5 separate regions of the Homo sapiens genome follow, and all the other regions are linked to region 4. The links are contacts of gene promoters, found by promoter capture Hi-C in blood cells and fetal thymus (Javierre and others, 2016). All regions are on one chromosome and are shown on one strand. Each heading gives the region's core, a stretch centred on a gene start or on the middle of the fragment in contact. The rest is flanking DNA. Distances are from core to core; before and after follow the strand shown.

What was found. Contacts are between HindIII fragments. The CHiCAGO score rates a contact against its expected background, and 5 or more counts as called.
Region 1: a fragment that was not itself captured here is called in contact with the fragment with the promoter of OSR1 in region 4 in 9 of 17 cell types (total CD8 T cells, total CD4 T cells, neutrophils and 6 more); the score reaches 8.5 in total CD8 T cells.
Region 2: a fragment that was not itself captured here is called in contact with the fragment with the promoter of OSR1 in region 4 in 2 of 17 cell types (endothelial precursors and M2 macrophages); the score reaches 7.7 in endothelial precursors.
Region 3: a contact is called between a fragment that was not itself captured here and the fragment with the promoter of OSR1 in region 4, in 8 of 17 cell types (total CD8 T cells, naive CD8 T cells, activated CD4 T cells and 5 more). The highest score is 10.3, in total CD8 T cells.
Region 5: a fragment that was not itself captured here is called in contact with the fragment with the promoter of OSR1 in region 4 in 4 of 17 cell types (naive CD8 T cells, total CD8 T cells, M1 macrophages and 1 more); the score reaches 6.8 in naive CD8 T cells.

Annotation. Positions count from the first base shown.
Region 1 is chr2:19,892,375-19,895,074 of GRCh38, reverse strand. No RefSeq gene overlaps it. Among named protein-coding and RNA genes, the nearest start is that of TTC32, 8.3 kb to the left of the region's middle. The HindIII fragment of the contact is 3,471 bases long and covers 1-2,700 here.
Region 2 is chr2:18,738,153-18,740,899 of GRCh38, reverse strand. All of the region lies in intron 4 of LOC105373456 (a long non-coding RNA gene), which reads right to left. Among named protein-coding and RNA genes, the nearest start is that of NT5C1B-RDH14, 150 kb to the right of the region's middle. The HindIII fragment of the contact is 3,221 bases long and covers 1-2,747 here.
Region 3 is chr2:19,912,641-19,915,340 of GRCh38, reverse strand. WDR35 (WD repeat domain 35) reads left to right here. Exons shown (of 27, transcript NM_020779.4): 26 at 1,064-1,304; 27 at 1,633-2,700. The coding sequence ends at 1,783. Among named protein-coding and RNA genes, the nearest start is that of TTC32, 12 kb to the right of the region's middle. The HindIII fragment of the contact is 181 bases long and covers 1,171-1,351 here.
Region 4 is chr2:19,357,287-19,359,986 of GRCh38, reverse strand. It overlaps OSR1 (odd-skipped related transcription factor 1), which reads left to right and starts at 1,364. Exons shown (of 3, transcript NM_145260.3): 1 at 1,364-1,646. RefSeq lists enhancers at 1,492-2,020, 2,686-2,700. The HindIII fragment of the contact is 8,359 bases long and covers 1-2,700 here.
Region 5 is chr2:19,873,923-19,876,622 of GRCh38, reverse strand. LINC00954 (long intergenic non-protein coding RNA 954) reads right to left here. Exons shown (of 10, transcript NR_033875.1): 6 at 680-820. Among named protein-coding and RNA genes, the nearest start is that of LINC00954, 6.4 kb to the right of the region's middle. The HindIII fragment of the contact is 3,355 bases long and covers 1-2,700 here.

The sequences.
Region 1 (2,700 bases), core at 199-2,698, 540 kb before region 4:
AGCGTTGAAACTTTAGGCATTATTCAGATTCTAAGTTTCTGATTGACCAAATAATACCTTGGATATTTACCTTAAAATATATTCATTACCGTTCATATTTCCCACATTTCAGTATTCGTTATTTCCTTTTTCTACTAGAAAAGTAACTTATGTTTTCTAATTTTTTCCTTTGTAAAAACAAAAGAATTGTGGTTTGTTATAAGGTTTCTCTTTCACAAAGTGAGGTAAGATAGGATAAAATGGATTTAAGTTACTTTTGAGTTTAGAATATTACTCCTAACAGTAGTTGAAAAGTGTGGAGCTATTTGTTTTTTTCTGAAATTTGGAACTGAATAAAACCCTTTACTTTATGATAGCAAAGCAAATATCCAAGTTAGTCTTTAGTCATTATCTATTTGCTCTTTTGCTCTGTCATTTGCTCTTTTGCTCTGTCTTTTTTGGTTTTCTGTTTTTCACTGGCTTCTCTACCCTCTGAATCCTAAATGTAGCCTTGGCTCCCTGTCATTTTGTAGGTCTTAAATCTTTCTCCGTGGGCATGATATATTTCAACCCCACCTACCACTCAGCGTTTACACTGATTCTTGTCTCAATGTCTCCCTTTCTGCTAAGTCTAGCCCCCTTAAAAATTTAACTCAGAAGTAAACAGTTTGTATATAAACCGTAATAGCATGTTTTTTTTTTTTCTTTTTTGAGACAGGGTCTCACTCTGTTGCCCAGGCTGGATTGCAGTAGCTTGATGACAGCTCACTGCAGCCTTGACCTCCCTGGGCTCAGGTGATCCTCCCACCTCAGCCTCCTAAGTAGCTTGGACTATAGGCATGCGCCATCATGCCCAGCTAATTTTTGTATATTTTGTAGAGATAGGGTTTCACCACATTGTCTAGGCTGAGCATGAATGTTTACTGTGCTAGTTTTTTGTTTTATTGAGAATAATTCATATATCATATAGTTTACCCATTTAAAGTGTACAGTTCAATGGTTTGAAGGTATATTCAGAGTTGCTGCACCATTTTTTCAAGGTTTTTGGGTATACTGGTCTTGCATGCAAACTGCACTTAAAGTTACAACACAGAAAAAATTTTATGCAAATTAATGACTAAACATGAGAGTGTTTCAAAAACAACAGCTCATGCACAAAACAGATCTAAGAGTCCTAAAAAGTGCTGCTTCTGGCTTCATTCAAATATGTGGCACGATTCCACTTTGTCTCATGTGATGCTCTCTAACTAGAAATGTGTTGAGTAAATCAGACGGCTCATCTCTGCCTGAAATGGATGCTGAATTTAGTGTGTTTAGGTTAACATATTGCTACGCTAAACAAATTGTTGACAAATGTGTAATAGCTTTTCAAGAGCATAGTGAAAAGTTGACTGAATATTTGCTATTTACGCTAGGTGTGTAATTTTAACAATTTCTATATAAATTCACATTTTGGTGTTTTCTGTGTTTCTAAAAAATGTGACAGTAAATTGTGAGAACAGAATGCCCATAATTTAAAATGGCAGTTGGTAAAAGAGGGAGAGTGAGATTTGTTAAATTTCAAATCTAATGTTAAGGGACTTCAAATGACACCATTTCACTCTACAGAAAGGAAAGAAGGATGAGTATAGTCTAATTTCTGTTTTTGAAAAAACAAAGCAATTGATACAATTAAAACACATAGTTTATCCTTTTTAAAATCACAAGAAGGTAAAAGAACACGTCATGTAGCAAGACAAATTATAAAACAAGCAACCTGTAAGGAAGCCCCGAAACTGAAATTATGAATGTGGATATAAAAGTAAAATAGGAACACAACAGTGTAATCCCAGGTTTATATGTGTCATCACAAAATCATAAATATAGCAGTTTAGTGAAGGTCTTATTCTGCATAGAGGATGAAGCTAAGAAATTGAGTAACTTGTGCAAGGTTGTGTCCAAAATCCATATAAATATTTGAAACTGCAATGAGTATCAATGTTTTTGCTGTTGGCATCAACTCACAGCAGATATGTGGACTTTTTTTTTTTTTTTTGGTCCTGATAAAAAATTTAAATTGCTCATAAAATGTTTTAGTACCCAGCAAAGTGAGTATCAGAATAATATTAAAGTATGTTTTTAAATAATGGAATGTTATTGCAATGCCCACATTGCTTGGTGGTCATTTTTCTTATTAAAAACAGACACAAAAGATGGTGAAAAGCAGATTAATTTTAAGAGCAAACTCCATTTGGAAACTAGATAGCTACAGCTGCCAATATGTAAATTTTTATCTTATGTCAAAAAAAGCATCCAATACGTAGAAATAAGGCAAAAGGATTTGCATGGCATTTCAATATCATACCAGCAGACCCACTCAACGACTGTTTAATTCTTTTGGGGAGCCATGTGTGTGCCTTTCTTTGATTTTCTATTTACTCTTGATTAGGGCCCAGACTCTGGGAGGTTGCATGTAACTTGCAGATTTTTGTCCAGAGGAGATGCAAATGAACTCTGGTAGAAAAGATAACCCCAAAAGTTTTGGCTGTATTGCCCTGAAGAACGTTAACCAGTTTTGTATTTAACCTAGCAACTTTATTCCCAAATTCTTTCTTCATGGACCATAAGTACTCAGTTATTCTAATGCTCTTTTACCACTCTGGCGGTTCTCTATTAATGAGTTAAACATTTTTCACATTTTCATTCTATATTCTTATAAGAATCGTGCTTAACTTCAAAAAA
Region 2 (2,747 bases), core at 60-2,559, 620 kb after region 4:
AATTTGGTGGTGGTAAAATGTTGTCAGGATAGAGGAAGGGGGAGTTCGGATATATAGTGGGTCAACACAGGGTTCAAGCCATCCATCGGGACCTGACATCAAGCTGCAGAAGAATGAGCAGCGCAGGAGGGGCCTGGTGGACTGCCTGCTGGAGAAAAGTGACAGAGGGCCCAGCCAGCGGGCTTCTTGAGACAGCTGGAGGGCGGCCTGGGTCCAAAGCGCATGCCTAACCCATGACTTATGGAGGACCTGACTGGCCTGACCTCAGCATGATAAAGAATTGTGCTGGAACTGACCACAACCCTTTTTCTGGGCTTCAATTTCTGCCCTGAGGAGGGCCTCCACCACCCTCCCAGCATGATGAGGTTATGAACGATATCTGTGGATCTCAACCACAGGGAATGCTCTGGGAACATTCTCAGAACACACATCTTCAATCTCTTCCACTTGATTATCTAGTTTTGATTCCATCTACGGTTTGGGTGGATGGCTGAGAATAGAAAATCAGAGAGGGAAGTTTAACTCTGGTGAGTATAACATTCTGAAACATAGTTGTGAAACTGAATTTGATGTCTCTGCAGGGAGTTTGTAGGTACCCAAATACAGAAACGATCAAGCTAGTACTAACCAGTTGTTAGATAAATTCAATATTTCTGTTTATTTATTTCCACATCTTAACAGATAGATGAGTAATAATGTTAGTGTAAATGTTAATCATTTTAAATGTCCTTTTGGACATGTAATAAAAAGGTACTACGTGGAAATAACAAGCTATGAACTGTGCAGGGAGGTGTTGGCAAAACATATTATACTTAAGGCATTGCCCCTATTTTCCTGATAATTGCGATTTAGTTGAGAACAGACTGAAATGGATTTCATCACCTTGTAATGTTCCCATGAAAATCTTAGACCAGAAATGTAAAGCAGTGTGGGGTGACATGGAATAGGTAGAAGGTATCTAAGTGTTCTCACCATACAATAGACCTTCCTCAAATGCCTCCTTGGGTCTCCAAAGCATCTTAGTCTGTTCGAACCTCTGTAACAAAATACCATATACTGGCTGACATGTAAACAACAGAATTGTATTTCTCACAGTTCTAGAGGATGGAAGCCTGAGATCAAGGGATTTGGTCAGTTTGGTGTCTGGTGAAGCCCTTCTTCCTAGATGGCCATCTTTTCACTATAATCTCACATGGAAGAAGGAGTGAGGGATCTCTCTGGGGCTTCTTTCCAAAGGCACTAACCCCATTCATTAGGACTCCACCCTTATGACCTAATCACCCCCGAAAGGCTCCACCTCCTTATACCACACCATCAGTTTGGGGGTTGAGATTTCAACAAATGAATTTGGAGGAAACATAAACCTTCAGACCACAGCAACTAGGCATCTGAAGGAAAGGAAGAAGGAAGACAAATGTGTTCCAACGTCCAAGACACAAAGAGTTTTGCATCATAAAAACTGCATAGCATTCAGGGGACAGGGCAAAATGGCCAGGCTTGCCCCAGGTGGGGAGTCTAACAGGAGACCCATGCATGAAGTTGAAATCCCACTGGCCTATACTCTTTGTAGAAGGTTGAATGAGAAATAAACCACTGCCAAGAATAGAAGAGCAGGGAAACTTTACAGTCTGCATTGGCACTAGTGGAGGGGAAAAATTCATCCTGAGATTTTATAACCTCCACAGACCCTTCACAGGTTTGCCATCCAAATTTATGCCACCTGTGAGGTCTGAAAAATCTCAAATGGACAATTTAATTTAAAGTGGTCCTAGGCCAGCAGTGCCCCCCCAGGAAACTGGCAGAAGCAAACACAAATCATTTCTAGAGGAATAGTAATTCAACCCAGGTTTCAAAGAATTCCCACAGATAAAGTTCCAAGGAAAATGAGCAACTCACTGAAAAATAGAAAAACACACAGAAACAAGGCACCTTGAATGAAATGCAGGAGAGTCAGGTTACTGAATATATCAGATATTGTCATGACCAGAGAATATACAACTTTATTTACTTTGAAGAAATAGAGAAGCATAAAAATATAAACAAAAAATAAATGTAATTTTTAAATTGTAGGGATATTTTTTAAAGAAGCAAATAAAATATTAGAAATGAAGAGCTATAACGGTTGAAATTAAAAGCATACTGGATAGGTTAAATAGAAGATTAAAGTAGACAACATTGAGTGGCCTAGAAAATAGATTTAAAAGATAATGTGAAAAATGTGACCCAGAAAGACAAAGAGATAGAAAATAGGAAAAAGAAATTAAGAGCCAGAGCAGAGAGTGGGGAAAGCCAACAATTATTTAGTTATAGTTTTAGAAGGAGATAATAGAATGAAAATGAGCCAATATTTAATGACATTATGTTTGACAATTATCCAGACCCACGAAGGACACCAGTTCTCAGATCCAAGAAGCCCAATTAATTCGAAAAAGAATAAATATGAAATAAACTTCACACAAAGACATATTATAGTGAAGCCATGAGCATCAAAGAAAAATAGTCCTTAAAGCCAGTAGACAGCACGAACACATCACATAAATATCAATTAAACAGACGACTCATTTCACATTAGTATATATGGACATGAGAAGACAATGCAATGCCCTGAATGTTATGCCCAATGCAATTATTTTTTCAAGAATGAGAATAAAATTAAAACATTTTTTGGCATGATAAAATATGAAGTATACCACCAACATGTCTACACTAAAGGAAATTCTAAAAGAAAGAAAAGAAGAAGCAGGAAA
Region 3 (2,700 bases), core at 12-2,511, 560 kb before region 4:
TGTAACTGAGTGATTACATTTTATATACATTTTTTCTACTACACTTTGTTGTAAATACTTGACCCCAGAACCAGTTTATAGGATTCTGATTGTAAAACACATGAATATATTGTTTAAACTGGTTTTATGAAGTTTTTGATATACTATAACAAAGTATTTTTAAGATTCCAAGGTCTAGAGAAGAAAAAGATACAAATTGGTTATAAATCTAATATTAAATCTTAATATTAAATCTAATATTAAGTCTGCTTTTTTTATTATACTTTAAGTTCTGGGGTACATGTACAGAACGTGCAGGCTTGTTACATAGGTATACATGTGCCATGGTGGTTTGCTGCACCCATCAACCGTCATCTACATTAGGTATTTCTCCTAATGCTATCCCTCCCCTAGCCCCCCACCCCCAACAGGCCCAAGAATACAGTGCATTTTAAAGAAAGATTTTTTCATCTCCAGTATAATTGCAAATAAGATGTTGTAACTTGAATTGTCTCAACTGACAACTTGGAGACTCATTTTCACTTTTTCACAAAATCCTATTGTTTCAGTGAGACAAATGACAAAAGCAGTAATACAAAAGCAATAATCTGTCCAAAGAAACACAGAGAAAAGAACATATTATTTTATACTGTTTTGCTTATATTGTTTTGCTTTTTTTTTAACAAAAGGAAACATGGTATTATCTTGCAGTTTATGACTAACATAGTATAATACTCATTTGCTTTTTATGAAGTGCCACAGAAATTTCTAACATAAATTGAAGAAAATGTGGATGTTTTGACACCAAAATTTTGTGTGTGTGTGTGTATTTCTGAGCTGGCACAGCCATGTGCAGCATTTGGTGGTGGTTCTTTTCATAGGATGAGCTGTTAGCCAGCTTCACAGAACCTTGGATATCATGTAGCCTAGTTCCTCCTCTTGGTGCTCCCATCTCTCAACACTGTTTGCTTTCAGTTCGTTCATGCAAGTTCAATGAAATCACCTTAACTTAGATTCTTCTTTTGCATGTTCATGATATCATAATAATTATTTTAAAAAACCCCAATTGCCCTGTTTTTCTTAGCTCTTCACCTGAAAGACTATGAAGACATCATCCCTCCTGTGGAGATCTACTCTCTGCTAGCACTCTGCGCATGCGCCAGCAGAGCCTTTGGGACTTGTTCAAAAGCTTTCATTAAACTTAAATCTTTAGAGACCCTCAGTTCAGAACAGAAACAGCAGTATGAAGACCTTGCTTTAGAAATCTTCACCAAACATACTTCAAAAGATAACAGAAAACCTGAATTGGACAGCCTTATGGAAGGGTAGGCTAATTTTAATTAGTGGATGCCATTCTATCTTATTAGAAGCTTGGATTTCTAGATGTACAATGTTTAATGTAGGAATTAAAGCACTGAATTTTGAAGCAATTCACATTAACATTATACCCTATTTTATTTATTTTTACAAGTGTATTCATGCTTTATTTTGTCATTGTAAGAAAGGTTTTTTCTTGAAATAACTTTTTTAAATGAAAGTATTTGATGTTCATCTCAGAAGTTTTATTCTTTAGGTTTTTTTTAAGTGTATTAAATAAAGTTAGACTAATGAGAAGTTTTAAAGTATAATGAATTGTTTCTCCCCGTTTTACAGTGGAGAAGGGAAACTGCCAACATGCGTTGCCACAGGAAGCCCAATCACTGAGTATCAATTCTGGATGTGCAGTGTATGCAAACACGGTGTCCTTGCTCAGGAAATAAGCCACTACAGCTTCTGCCCCTTATGCCATAGTCCAGTGGGATAAAGGAATGATAAACTGTATATAACTGTAAAATATATGTAGCATATATACATGGCTATATGCTGTATATGTAATAAGGTTTATTTCTGTGAGTTTTGTATGAAAATCAGCCTCATTATTTATAGTTGAATTTTTGCACAAAATATATGTTAATAAAATAATTTTTATGGCAATACAACTGTGAAATAATAAGGCCGATTTTCATATAAATGTATGAAAATCAACCATGTTTTCTCTCACCCTCTCTCTTTTGTTTATCTTGTTTTTGGTTACATGATACCATGGAAATATTCCAAATAAATTTTTTTCTCACAGTGTCAAGGTAACTGAATTCATTAAAAAATCTTGAAGGGAGTAGGGAGTGGGGGAAGCATGGGAGTGGGGCAAAGTTGAATTTAGAGAATTTTTATAACCCATGTTACAAGGAAGTTAAACAATTGTAATAATGAAATGAGCTTTCTCTATAGCCATATTTAATTAAATAAGTGTCGAATGTCTTCTTTATTGTATTTTCAGAAGTGAGGCGATGGCATTTTAAGACATTTTTTACAATCTGAATTGTTTCTAATAGCCCTATTCTTCTATTTTAAAACCTGTCCTTTTAGTCTCATTTAAGAGATGGCATTTGGAATTTACACTTTCATATGATTGTGCAGAAAACTTGCCTCTATTTATAATGAAGATAACTTAAACAGAAATATCCATTTTGTAGTTATAGCTTCTGTTGAAACATTGTCACTAAGTTGGACCGTTTATTTACACAAGTATTGTTGAGGGAGTGATTTTTTCTTGATATGCGTCTGTTTTCATTTATTATTAATTTGAAAGATAAACAGTTGTGATCCATAATGGATCATTTCTTATGTCTTTTACATAGCTAATAATGTTCTCTGTTTATTTCTCATGAATTCCCATTTTGT
Region 4 (2,700 bases), core at 115-2,614:
GGGATATAAGGAAATCCTCTTTCAACTATGCCTTTGAGGGAGGGGAGTCTTCATTACCATCTCCCTAGGTCAGGTATTACAACCTTCTTCACCTCCCAAGAAAATCAGATTAGCTTTGCAAACCAAAGCTGGAGATAGCAGAAGCTCCTCGGGAGAGAAGCAGTACAGTACTTAGGGACCCACGGAATCTAGGATCCAGCTCCAAGAGTCACTCAGCAGCAACTCTGGGGCAAAGGCAGAGAGTGCAGTTGTGTGATCTGGACCCACACAAGTCCCAGGAAACCAGTGACTCCTCCTTGCCAAACCCAAGGCCTGGAAGGGTATTCCAGAAAGGCATTAGGGAGGGATTGGGCTGGGGTCAGCCGGAGGTCAGCTTTCAGAGATGGGTAGTCAAGGGGGTGATGGTACCCTCCATAATGCCTAGGCAATGAAGATAGAATTTTTAATGTCCAGAACTCTGATTCCTTTCCGATTAAAAACTCCACCTGAACCAGCTCCTTGACTCAGAGGCCCTGGAACTGACAACTTTGCAGCTCGTCTAGCTTGCCAGTGCGGCTCTCTAAACTCTGATCCATCCTAAAACAAATATGTAAGTAGAGAGTGCCACTGTGCATTGGGGTGAAATCTCAGAGAGTTCTGGGCCCCAGGAAAATAACTTTCCTGACCTCCTTTCCCTACTCTTTGTTCTTTCTACTGGACTCCAGAACTTAGGGTCTGGGGTCAACCATAAGCACTCAGATGTTACAGCTCGCTTGCTTCGGTGACCCTGGCCCTCCCGCACCAGGAATTAACCAGCGCTGCCTGGGTTAACACCCTGGCCCCGAGCACGCTTGGATAGCCAGGAGCTGCTCCACACTCGGGGTCTGCCGCCTCTGGAAAGAGATTCTGGGAGGAGATGCGACTCTGTCAGGCGCCAAAGTGCGTTGAAACCCAAGCCGCGGTGTGGGGATCCCGGTGCACAGAGCTACTGCCCCTCCCTCCCTCCTCCCAAAGAGCACGGGCTGTGTCCTAGGAGCCCAAGTATAGGACCTCGAAACGTGCGGTGCCAGCCCGCTCTCATCTGCTAGGGACCGTTTCCTCCAGTGCGCCAGGCGTGCCGCTCTGGACCTAAAAAGGCAGCAGGGGTCGCGCGGGACTGAAGAGGAGGGGACGCAGGTTGGGAGAGGCCGGGTCCAAGCGAGAGCAGCTGCCAAAGTCTGCTGCCCGGGTCAGCAAAAACTTTGTCTTTCATTGCGCAGGCGCAGGGCAGGGTTGGGGGGCAGGGGAGGGAGGGGAGGAATCCTGAGGCAAGGGGCGGGGGTGGGGGTGGTGGAGGAGGGAGGGTGGTGGATTAAAATAAGTAGGCGGCTCGGTGCTAAGGGATGAGTGAGTCGGAGCTCGGCCTCTCCCCGGCACGTTCTCAGCTGCTCCTGGTTCAGACCCAGCGAGGGAGCCGCGAGCGAGGCTCACCGTCCCCGGCGTGCAGGATCCGGGGCTGCTGAGCGCTCGCTCCCGCGTGTCCGGCGCTTGGAGTCCCCGCGGCAGGAGAGGAGTCGGGACACTAGAGCTCCAGGGGCGCCTGTGGGCTCCAGGGCCTCCGGCTTCCCCAGTCCCCTTCAGCTAAAGCCCCAGAGACGTGCTCAGCCCCAGGACCTCTGCGGAACAAGGTAATTGCAGTCCTGGGCGCCTGGGCTCAGCAAAGCGAATGCGGGCAGGACTCCCAGGTTCCTTGTCACTGCTCGGCGGGTGCCTCCTCTCTCTCAATGCCCCTGAAGGAAGCTCTTGCCAAACGAATGCTGTAGGACTTTTGTGAAAGTGAGAGCAGGGTGGTTGGGGGTGCTGCCTCAGGACTTCCTGCGCGGGGTCCTCGGCCTCTGACCGCTGGGGATTAAGGGGGGCGGGCCTCCGCTACTGCGGCCAGCCCGCCCGGCTCTGCGGAATCACGGGCGAGGTGCCCACGGACTTTGAAAGTCAATCTGTGGGCCCCCTTTAAGAAACCAGAGCAACTTCAGCGGGCACAAACTTTCCTGAGACGCGCTCCTAGCTCTGGCTGACGCCCAGGTTGACGAAGAAGGAAGGGAGAGGGAGTGAATGGCCACAGCCGCAGCCGACCGCGCCAGGGACAGGTGCATGCCCCAGCTCGGTAGCGCTTTCGTTCAAGTTTGTCTTTTGAGGAGTTGCGCTCTAGTATGAGGCCGCCTAGACCCGAGAGCGCAGGGCTGCGAGTCTGAACCCCGCCTTGCACTCGCGCTCTAACTTAGGGATATTCTCCATAGGATGATTGCTCTGTGTCGTCAAGGCCTGGAGCGGAACCCTTGATTGTCCTGGTGCAGGGAGGCAATGCAGTGGGCGCAAGCACTGCTTTCCAATTCGAGACCCACACACAGCACTAGTGGAAACTCTGTGGAGCCCTAGGGTCTCCGGGCTGGGGACAGGAAAAGTTCTGTTACTCCCCTGACTGTCCGCTAATCCAGCCGTCAGGAGAGAAAGAAGGGGGAAAGGGGTGAAGGGCTGCCTGCTGAACTAATTTCTCCTCGGAAATGTCTCGGAGAAGAATGAAAAACCACGTTTAGTCCTTTTTCAGCAGCTCAGGCAGTAGCGGGTTGGGTTCTCAATGTGTAAAGTAGCCGCAAGGGTTTCTTTGTTGCCACAATTTGGTAAATTTCACCCAGGCTAAGAGCTGCGCATTGGCTCTGCGGAACAAAACCACGTGCAAGGCTA
Region 5 (2,700 bases), core at 113-2,612, 520 kb before region 4:
AGGATAGAACAGTGCCATCTGTGTGGCAGCAAGCCTTCAACACTAGAATCCTAGTGACCTTAAGAGGATGACACCTAGCAGAGCTATAGGAAGGAAGACAATATACCTGTTTTCTTACTTCCTGGAGCTGTCAAACCTATAGGCAGGCCTAGTCAAGGGGCAAAAGATGACTCACCTGGAACTTTCCTGTTTTTATATCCTTTCCCTGCTATCTCTACATTGGGTACCTAATGACCTTGCTGGGAAGAAGGCCATGTCTGATTTATACCAAGGTCTTGATACCACTGGCTACCCTTACTGTGACCTTGACAGGAGAAGTCTACCAAGGTTAATATTTCAGGGGTGGTGGCACCTGGGAGGGAAGACTGTATGGGGTACGTTGAGTCCTGTTCATGTCATTCCTGGCATGATTTAAGTGAAGTCTTACTGCTGATTGTATGAGCAGCCACCCATTCTCTGTATTACTTCATGAGTCTGCCAACAGCTGCTTCTATACTGGGTTTCCAATCCCAGGATGCAGACAAGCCACTTGTGAGGAGTTACTTCTGTGTAGCCCCAGTGGGACCCCCCTCCCATGGGAGGGGCTTCCACAGCTGTTGTTTGGACAGAGCCAGTGTAACTTGTTGGGTACCAAGACCATCCATGAGTCCAGGACCAGCACCTCACTTGGTGTACTTACCCACATCCTTGAAACTATATACCATTTCTGCAGGGTAGGAGAATGGTTTCCCATCTGGACCCACGCTCAGCATGTAGTTCACATGGAGGACATAGTGGGTTTCATTCCTGTTCATGTACTAGAAGACATCACAGGAACAGTCTGCAAGTGATGGATAGAGTAAAGTAATTCAAAATCTAAGCTGTTAGAACCTCAAAACATTTTGAGCCTTAAGGGAATGTGATTATAGGACCTGAGTCACATAAACATGCAGCTGTAACCTTTGTTTCTGATTACAGATTGGTCATTTTTCTTACCTACATGTTTTGTAAAATGTTGTAAATGACTAAAGGGTGCCAGGGAAGACCCCTTCCCTCTTAACTGTTGATATTCAGTATAGATTAACTTCCCTCTTTCCTCTTCCACACAAAGTCTTCATGGCTATGGGATTGTCTAAGATGGAATGTTAACTACTCTTAAATTGGAAAGGAAATGAAAACAAGCTGTAAAGAAAACAAACTTTATGGAAAAGAAAACAAACTAAATTGTAACTCATAAAACAGCCTTGTATAGAAAATGATAAAATCCTACTGAATTTCTTTATTTTCTGCCTATATAAGCAAGACCTTAACTTTTAACTTCGGAGCACTTATTCCATTTCTCTGAAGTCTGTTTCCTGTATGGTCATTCCCAGCTTTTTGCTTGAATAAACTCTTTAAAACTGGATTCTGATCCTTTCAATTATTTCAGGTTGACCATAGCTTAGAGCCATGCTGAGCAAAAGGCTGCCTGAATTTACGAAGCCACTTCTGGGTAGTGACCCTAGGACAGCCTCCTGCCCCCTTACAGCATCTGCTCAGGCTGGACAGCATAGCAGAGTAGGCCCTGTCCTTGTGTGCCCACCACCTGATGGGGGGCTTGAGACCTCAATCCAATGAGGATGTCCACTCTGTCACGTACTCGAGTGGCTACTGGTCTCTCCATTACAGTGTTTCAAACTGCTCCAGCCTGCCAAGCTAGATTAGACAAGACGTGCTCATGTAATTTAATGACCTGTGAGGGTGGGGTGGGTGAGAGCTCTGCCTATGAAGTATGTTACCTGCCCAGCAGGTAACACTATCTGGTAAGCTATCTGCTGGGCAGAGGATCTGTCCAAACTGACAGCTTCTTACCTGGACATGAGCACTGGCTGACCTCTTTAATCACTTCTGTGTCATCAAGGACACTTCAAGCACAAACCTTTGTGTTCCATCTGGGAGGGAAATTTCCCAAACCTTATACCCAGGTTCATCCACTTCTGAAATAGGATAGGGCACAGTTCTGATCCCCATTGCCACCAACTGGTCACCAGGGAAGACAGCTCCAAAGGTGATGTTGAAGAGTCTTGTCCCAGGGACCGTGTCTGTTGGAAGTTCTCATCTATTACAGCCTGTGGTTTACCGGCAACAGACTCTCCCAGTCTCCCTTAATTAAGTCCTCAGAGCTAAGAGCATCCTGTTTTCTCTTTCCTGTGAGGGGACTAGAAAGGACTAGGGGTGTCTGTGTCCTTTGATAATCTTCTCCCCTTTCCCCCCAAAGATGCTCTTGTCTCTTAGAGTCAATCCTTCTTTAGCCAGTAACTCAGGAACAAGGCCGAGTGAGGAACCACAGGAAGGATGTGATCAGCGAGGGCCATTTTGAGAACATAAGCCCATTCATAAACCCGAGGGCAACCCAGCAGCATCAGTCAAAAATTGCCAGCCATTCCTTATGCAAATAACCACTAACATACTAGCCTCACCATCCCAGGTAAGAGTGCAATTTATCCAGCTTTGTCCCTTTGTATGTTGGCTTAAGTAGCGGCTGAACACAAAAAAATAAGCTCGCATGTGAGGGCTAACCACAATCTTCTTTGTGTAGATTATAGGCTCATGGAGGTCAAAAGAATCCTTACTACTGTTGTCTCTCCTCAGGACCGAAAGTTATTCAATCACATTAGAGTCTGAATAATAGTTTTTTTTTTTCTTTTTTTCTTGGAGACGGAGTCTTGCTCTGTTGCCCAG